Regions from separate parts of the Homo sapiens genome. Here region 2 is linked to region 1. Evidence: promoter capture Hi-C in 16 types of primary human blood cells and fetal thymus (Javierre and others, 2016). All regions are on one chromosome and are shown on one strand. Each heading gives the region's core, a stretch centred on a gene start or on the middle of the fragment in contact. The rest is flanking DNA. Distances are from core to core; before and after follow the strand shown. Region 1 holds the start of ZNF572 (zinc finger protein 572). Region 2 overlaps LOC105375743 (a long non-coding RNA gene).

Region 1 (3,671 bases), core at 43-2,542:
AATGGAAACATTGTGAGTAAAAAGAGAAAAGAAAAGCTGAGGGACTATTTGGGGATGGGGGTGGAGGGATGGAGAGTTTAGTTGGTAGTGCGAAGTTTCCAAGAAGATAGGTAGGAAAGTGAGTACCAGTAAAGGGCTTATTAAAATACCAAAGAGCCCAGCACTTTGGGAGGCTGAGGCGGGCAGATCATGAGGTCAAGAGATCAAGACCATCCTGGCCAACATGGTGAAACCCAGTCTCTACTAAAAATGCAAAAATTAGCTGGGCATGGTGGCGCACACCTGTAGTCCTAGCTACTTGGGAGGCTGAGGCAGGAGAATTGCTTGAACCCGGGAGGCAGAGGTTGCAGTGAGCCGAAATCCTGCCATTGCACTCCAGACTGGTGACACAGTGAAACTCCATCACAAAAAAAAAAAAAAAAAAAAAAAAGGTCACAGAGGGACTCTGTATTGTAACAGGAGGGAAGAAAGAAAACGGCAGGGTGCAGACTTGAGTAGATTTCTGTTTGGTAGAGGTGAGATGAAGGGATTGGCTTCTATTTTCTCTGTAATGAAAGAGGAGGGATTAACTACTTTTCTAGGTGTTAATAAGGGTGCCTTGTAAACGAATTGTTTTATATGTGAATGGATGCCTTAGCTTTCTAACTTTCACAGGTAAGTAAATATATATCCATGTTCATAGCGGTGGGAACAGAAACAATAGGTGTTTAAAAATACTAGATTGAGGCCGGGCGCGGTGGCTCACGCCTGTAATCCCAGCACTTTGGGAGGCCGAGGTGGGCGGATCACGAGGTCAGGAGATCGAGACCATCCTGGCTAACCCGGTGAAACCCCGTCTCTACGAAAAATATAAAAATTAGCCGGGCATGGTGGCAGGCACCTGTAGTCCCAGCTACTCGAGAGGCTGAGACAGGAGGATGGCGTGAACCCAGGAGGCGGAGCTTGCAGTGAGCCGAGATCGCGCCACTGCACTCCAGCCTAGGCAACAGCGAGACTCCGTCTCAAAAAAGAAAAATACTAGATTGATTTTGATTCTAATAGTGATGATAATTAATCTGATGATATTCTGATGGCAAGGAAAAGTATAAGCTCCAATCAGGCCCCTGTCGTAAGCCGCCTGACAAGTGAGAGAAATGAGGTTCACAGTTGGCTGGTCACAGCACAGGGAAAGGAAATCCACCCCCACGCTCCTTCTGGTCCAGGACCCTAAGGGTTAAGATCAACGAGAGTGGGCCATCACTGTTTCCTAGAACGGCCCCAGCAAAGCCGCCGGGGGAGATGAGGGTAACTTCCTGTTTCTGCCTTCCGGGTTTGAGAGTTTAGGACCCTGGGTTGGTGGGGTCAGAGGGAGAGGGGGTACCTTCCTCCCGGACCGCTGGGGGTGCAGGGCGCCTTGGGTGTAGCACCCAGAACAGTGAGTTCCTTCTTGGGGGGAAGGGAGCCGAGGGTTGCGGGCTAGAGGAGTGGAAACAGCCCCGTCCAGGCTGCAGTGGACGTCCGGGAGAGAGTTCCCGCTGCTGCCAGGGGCGAAGGCCCAGCATCTCCCGCCGACGGGCCACCGTCATCCTTGTCCGCGGGGTCCCTTACGGGATCTTGTCGGCCGGAGACCGTCTGGTATCCTGGAACTTCACCCCCCAGCGTCTCCAACTTGTACCAGCCAGCGGTTCTTAAAACTAGGCTTCAGGCAGTGCATTTTCTTTGAAGGCTTTCTGATCAAAGCACGGCCCCACTCTGATCACATTGTTGCTCTAGAACAGTGAAAACACTCCTTCCCCGTGGAGAGACATCTTAATGGCAGCCTTGTATGGTCTTGCATTTGCCACCATTTTGCTGAGCCACTGTTCCGGGGGCTCCTTTGCTGCCAAATTTAATAGTATTTTAGTAGGGAAAATGGGGGAGATGGTAATGTGTTGCCCAGACTCTTGCTGCTTTTGTAAATACTTTGATAACAATATGTAACTTAGGACAGCAAAATATATAACTCCATTCGAACAACTCCACCCCCTTCCTTTTTTTGCATTCAGGTGTATGGTTTTTTCTCCCCCCCAACTCAAACACTGGGGATATTAGTAATGTAGACTAGTTTCACGTTTCTCTAGAACAAATCCCCACTTGCTGAGTGTGCTTAGGGAATGTCGACTCACTTTGTTAACAAGGTTTAGGAATGTAGACCTCTGTTTTAAAATGCCAGTATTCTAAATATTCTAAAATAAAGGGACTCTGAGGATTCTTTGCAGTTTGGGATTATGCCCAGCTCTGCTTCCTGTTCTAGTTTACGATAATAGATCAGAGGGTGAAAAAGGTCAGCATCCAAACAGACTTGGAGCTCAGTCCTGCTCTACCACTTTCTAGGTGACCTTAGGAAAGTTTCTTAATACCTTTCAAACTCATCCTATAAAATGCTGGTAGTTGTTCATACACTTCAGAGGGCTACTGTAAGAATTAAATGACAAATGTGTGCAAATTATTTCATTCACTACCTGGCACATAATAGGCAGTAATGGTGAAGATACAATATAAGTACATATACTATTTTTTGTTTTTAAAATGTGTGCATTTGTATATCCTTTTACGTCCTTATTTTTCTCCCAAATAATGATACTCTTTATATTCTGAAATGGATGCCAAAAGTCCATATGTCACTGCCTTCCTGTGATAGATCACATTTTCTTCTTTTTCTTTTTCTTTTTTCTTTTTTTTTGTTGAGACAGAGTCTTGCTCTGTCACCCAGGCTGGAGTGGTGCAATGGCACGATCTCGGCTCACTGCAACCTCTGCCTCCTGGGTTCAAGCGATTCTCCTGCCTCAGCCCCCTGAGTAGCTGGGACCACAGGCGCCCGCCACCACACCCGGCTAATTTTTTGTATTTTTAGTAGAGATGGGGTTTCACCGCATTAGCCAGGATGGAACATTTTCTAGTCCCTTAAAATAGGTTAGTGATTGTTGGCTCCAGAAGACGAAGTTTAGGCTGAAATGGATATTGTGAATATGATAGACTTAGGAACTAAGTGCAAGGAGGAAGAGGTCCCTCTTTAGCCTCCTTTTTATATTGCAGGGTTATTGGCTATAATTATTCCACCTCGGCTTTGTCCTAATTTCTCTTTACTGGTTATATAAATCCTAACTTTCCTTTGAAATTGACTTCAAAGGTTTCCTTCTGTCAAGACCAAGTTATTCTTTTGAAACTAAACAGGGTGCTTTTTTTCTTTAGCTGCTGCTTATGCCTTCATATTGATTCCTTGAAGTCTTTATAAGTTTTATTATTGGTGTCTTAAAAAAAATACTTTGCTTTTTAAAGTAAAAGTGTTTCTAAGCTACGTGTGGACAATGAGGATTAGTATTCTGTCTTTGAAGCTTGATCCTCAGACCTTTAATGTGAAGATTTACTTTTTTGCATTGTTATTTCAGGGTTAACCCTTAATTCTAAACACTTAGATCTGAGATAAGATTTTCTAAAAGGGCTGCTAAAAGTTGTGTTTCTTATTTTCGGTATGGTTCATGGAACATTCTATGCCTCCTATTGTTGTGTTGGAATGGTTGGGAAGGAAGGAGGAAGAATAAGCTTTAACAAATACCTCCAAACATAATTTATTTCCTTCCACAGGGTTTCTGATCTCTAACTTGGCTGTGATCATTGTGATGGAGCAAGAAAAAAAACTGTTGGTCTCAGAT
Region 2 (3,908 bases), core at 247-2,746, 120 kb before region 1:
GTCAGGCAAGGGCCTGAGTGGGTCAGGGAGAGCCTGGGAAGATCCTGGGTTTGGATTCCTTTCAAGGTGCAACGGGAAGCTTTGGCGTGTGTTGGGCAGGAGAGTGAAATGTCCTAGGTAGAGTTAAGGTTTTCTCTAGCTGCCCCATGGATTTGCCAGGGCAGGGTCTGTTTCCCTCAGCTGGCTCATCTGAGAAATAAATGTGTGATACTCTCAAATCCTTCTTTGGATTTAGAGAGAGGTATAAGTAAATGCCAAGTCCCATGTTACGGTGTGGTAATACTTGTTTGGTCCACTCATAATGGCATTTATTTTTTAAATCAGATCTACTGGGACTATAATGCTTCAAACCACGGGAGTAAGCCTTGCATGTGACCACTTCAGCTTCCACAGCAGGAAAAGGGAGGGAGATATTTTTAGAAGGGAGACCTCTCAGTGCCCCCTAAACCAGGCCGGAGGCACTGCCTGGCCCCAGAGGACCGTTGGCCTTGCCTATCAGCTTTCATCGTGGAGGAGGCGTGGGTGGACCGAGGTACCACAAGTTGCCAGGAATGCCTGACCAGAAACTGCTCTTGGGTGGGTCCCAGAGCTGCCTCCCCTTCACTTGACCCTAGGGCTGCTGGCTTCCTGGCCTTGTGAAATCTTCTAGAGGCAGGAAGAAGCCTGAGCGCTCCCTGACGCCACTTGAGTTTGACTTCATGGGTTTGCCGTGTGCCCCTGAACAAACCAGTTATCCTCTCTATGCCTTATTTCGGTATGCCCATCTAACACTAATTACCACCCCTCCCTGACTGCCCCCAAACCTTACCAGAAGAAATGGCATGAAGTTACGGAGACACTTTGAACTCATTGGCAAATTGTGCACTGTGAGGGGAAAGCACTGTGGCGGCCATTTTCTTTTCTTCCTTGAGAAAGTCCCTTGCTAATCATTAAGACTGGCTGAGTAAGCTTGTTCCTTTACATTTGGTGAGTAAGAAAGCCCCTCATGCTACCTCATCATATGTTCTTCCTCTTTTTCATGGCTTATCAACACTCCCTTCTGTAGGACATGCTGAGGAATTAGTATGAGTCAAAAGGAAGAATGACAAATAGGTGGTATTTCTGGTCTGGAGTTTGGAGGGCAAGTTCAGTCCAAAAGTTAGCTGCTTCAACCATCATGAAAGGTACAGAAACTCTAGGATGAATACACTTAGTATTTTTTATTATTTATTTATTTATTTTTTAGACGGAGTCTCACTCTGTCTGTCCCCCAGGCTGGAGTGCAGTAGTGCAATCTCGGCTCACTGCAACCCCCACCTCCCGGGTTGAAGCAATTCTCCTGCTTCAGCCTCTCAAGTAGCTGAGATTACAGTACACTTTGTACTTTAATATGCAAACTGCCTGCCTGCTCCAGAGAAGCAGCCTTTGTTCCTCAGTTCATCGCAACACTCAGCCTGTCAGTCAGGTTGTGGGATCCCTCCTATCCAGGAACTGTATGCTGTTGTCCCGGTTCTGACACTTTCCCTCTGAGTCCTTGGACACCTTACCTAACCTCTTGGAAGCTCCTGTCTGTGAAGGGTGTGCACAGAGAGCTTCGGTAGCCTGCGAAGCAGCCATTTTCACTTCCACGGAGCAGGTATTTTATTGCATTATTTCGAGCTCAAGGACTCCAGAATTAGATCCCCAAAATATGCCTGAGAAACATTTACTCCCCAGGAGCTCAAACTAAATAATGAAAACCATTGAAAACAACCAGGCAGCCCATGTCCTGAAGTCACCTTTTCCTGGGAGGTCCAGGAGAGTTTTTCCTACTTTCCCTGAGTTATCCTTCCCTTTCCTTCCCTTCCCTTTCTTCCCCAGAGGGCGATGCATGTTAATCAAGGAGCCTGCATTTGCGCAGGTATAGACAATTACACATTTACTGGGTCAGTTGCACCTGGGGGGGACGCCAATCTGTAAAGCAGAACCAAACCTCTTGCCTTCAGTCCTCAGAAGTTCTTCTGGTTAAAATCATCTAAAAAGTTGTTTCAAGTCTCCAGAACAGCTGAGATCAGCAAAAATAAATGAAGCTTCTTCTGTGTGGGTGCAGATGCTGGCCTGGGTGCTGGAATATGGAAATGAGGAAGATCCTGCCTGAGGATTTCATGACAGGTGAGGGGGAGAGAGGCCTGAGGAAGTTACCACCGGGGAAGGTGACAAGTGCAGTGATAGGATAAATACGAAGTGCAAAGAGAAGACAGACAAGAAGTTCAGCTAGCTAAGAAATGTGTTAATAACACCTTGATCAATCATTCCTCCACTTTTTTTTTCTTTTGAGAGTCTCATTCTGTCACCCCACCCAGAGTGCAGTGGCAGGAACACAACTCATTGCTACTTCAACTTTCTGGGCTCAAGCGATCCTCCTGCCTCAGCCTCCTGTGTAGCTGGGGCCACGTGTATTGCACCACCAAGCCTGGCTTATTTTTTAATTTCTTTTGTAAAGACAGGGTCTCACTATGTTGCCCAGACTGGTTTCAAACTCTTGGACTTAAGCAATCCTCTCATCTTTGCCTCCCAAAGTGCTGCGATTACCGACGTGAGCCACTGTGCCCAGCCTCACTTTAAAAAAAAAAAAAGGTTATGAAGCATCTCAACACAAGACCTCCTTTGCTCATCACAACCACCCAGTGAAGCAGGCAAGACAACAGAAACTCCCCACCTGTGATAGATGTGAGGCCTGAAGTCTCCCACATACCCACGGCAGATGCAACGCACAGCGGTGACCAATGGTAGGGATAACAAGTATTGCTTCCGCCCATTCAGTACTTCTTGCATGCCAGATCTGTGCTAAGTGCTAGATGAACACAGTCTCTTTTCATTCTCATAGCTCTTTAAAACAGGTATTGTTTTCTTTTAAAACAAATTGTTTTGTTAAATATAAATATCATGTACCTTATATATATATTATATATAAAAATACATGTAATTTACCATTTTAACCATTTCAAAATGTCCAGTTCAGGAGCATTAAGTACAGTCACATTGTTGTGCTACTGTCACTACACCATCCACAGAATTCTTCCTCTTTCCAAACTGAAATTCTACGCACTTTAAACAATAACGCCCTATTCCCCCCTCCCTCCAGTCTCTGGCACCCACCATTTTGCTTTCTGTCTTTGTGAAGTTGACCACTCCAGCTATATCATATAGTATTTGTCTTTTTGTGACTGCTTTATTTCAATTAGCATAATATCCTCAAGGTTCTTCTATGTTGTAGCATATACTGGAATTTCCTTGTGTGTGTGTGTATGAACCTCTATAAAGGATCCTTCCTTTTTAAGGTTGAACAATATTCCATGTATGTATATATCCAGTTTTGCTTATCTGTTCATCTGTCAATGAACACTTGGATTGTTGCCACATTTTAGTTATTGGGAATAATTTTGGCTATTGTGAATAATCTGTACACATGAGTGTACAGATATTTCTTTGATAAAATAGGTAAATAAAATTGCTTTATAAAGAAAAGCAATTTATTTCTCACAGTTCTGGAAGCTGGGAAGTCCAAGATCAAGGTGCTGGCATCTGGTGAGGGCCTTCTTGCTGCATTATTCCACAGTGGAAGGCAGAGGATTACAAGAGCGAGCAAGAGAGGACTGGCCTCACCTTTATAACAACTCACTCTTGCAATAACCCATTCCTTCTACAACAACAATATTAATCTCCTTTTTACAGTGAGGGAAACTGAAGTGCAGACATATTAATTTCTCCCAGTTTGTCAAATAATTCGTGGGAGAACCAGTCTCTGTGACTCCAAAGATAGGGTTCCCAACCATTGCACTATCCTACCGCTAAAAACCATGGGTTTTAACATCAAAAATATCTGAGTTCAGGTTTCCAGCTCTGCCACTAACTGACTGTGACACTGAGCAAGTCACTTAATCTCTCTG

The links. The method cuts DNA at HindIII sites, captures the fragments that hold promoters and counts their contacts. A CHiCAGO score of 5 or more calls a contact.
Region 2: a contact is called between a fragment that was not itself captured here and the fragment with the promoter of ZNF572 in region 1, in 1 of 17 cell types (M1 macrophages). The highest score is 6.8, in M1 macrophages.

Annotation. Positions count from the first base shown.
Region 1 is chr8:124,972,003-124,975,673 of GRCh38, forward strand. ZNF572 (zinc finger protein 572) reads left to right here and starts at 1,293. Exons shown (of 3, transcript NM_152412.3): 1 at 1,293-1,414; 2 at 3,604-3,671. The coding sequence starts at 3,639. RefSeq lists an enhancer at 1,236-1,395. The HindIII fragment of the contact is 4,233 bases long and covers 1-3,351 here.
Region 2 is chr8:124,847,207-124,851,114 of GRCh38, forward strand. All of the region lies in intron 1 of LOC105375743 (a long non-coding RNA gene), which reads right to left. Among named protein-coding and RNA genes, the nearest start is that of MIR4662B, 27 kb to the left of the region's middle. RefSeq lists enhancers at 557-1,756, 901-1,195 and a silencer at 901-1,195. The HindIII fragment of the contact is 1,100 bases long and covers 947-2,046 here.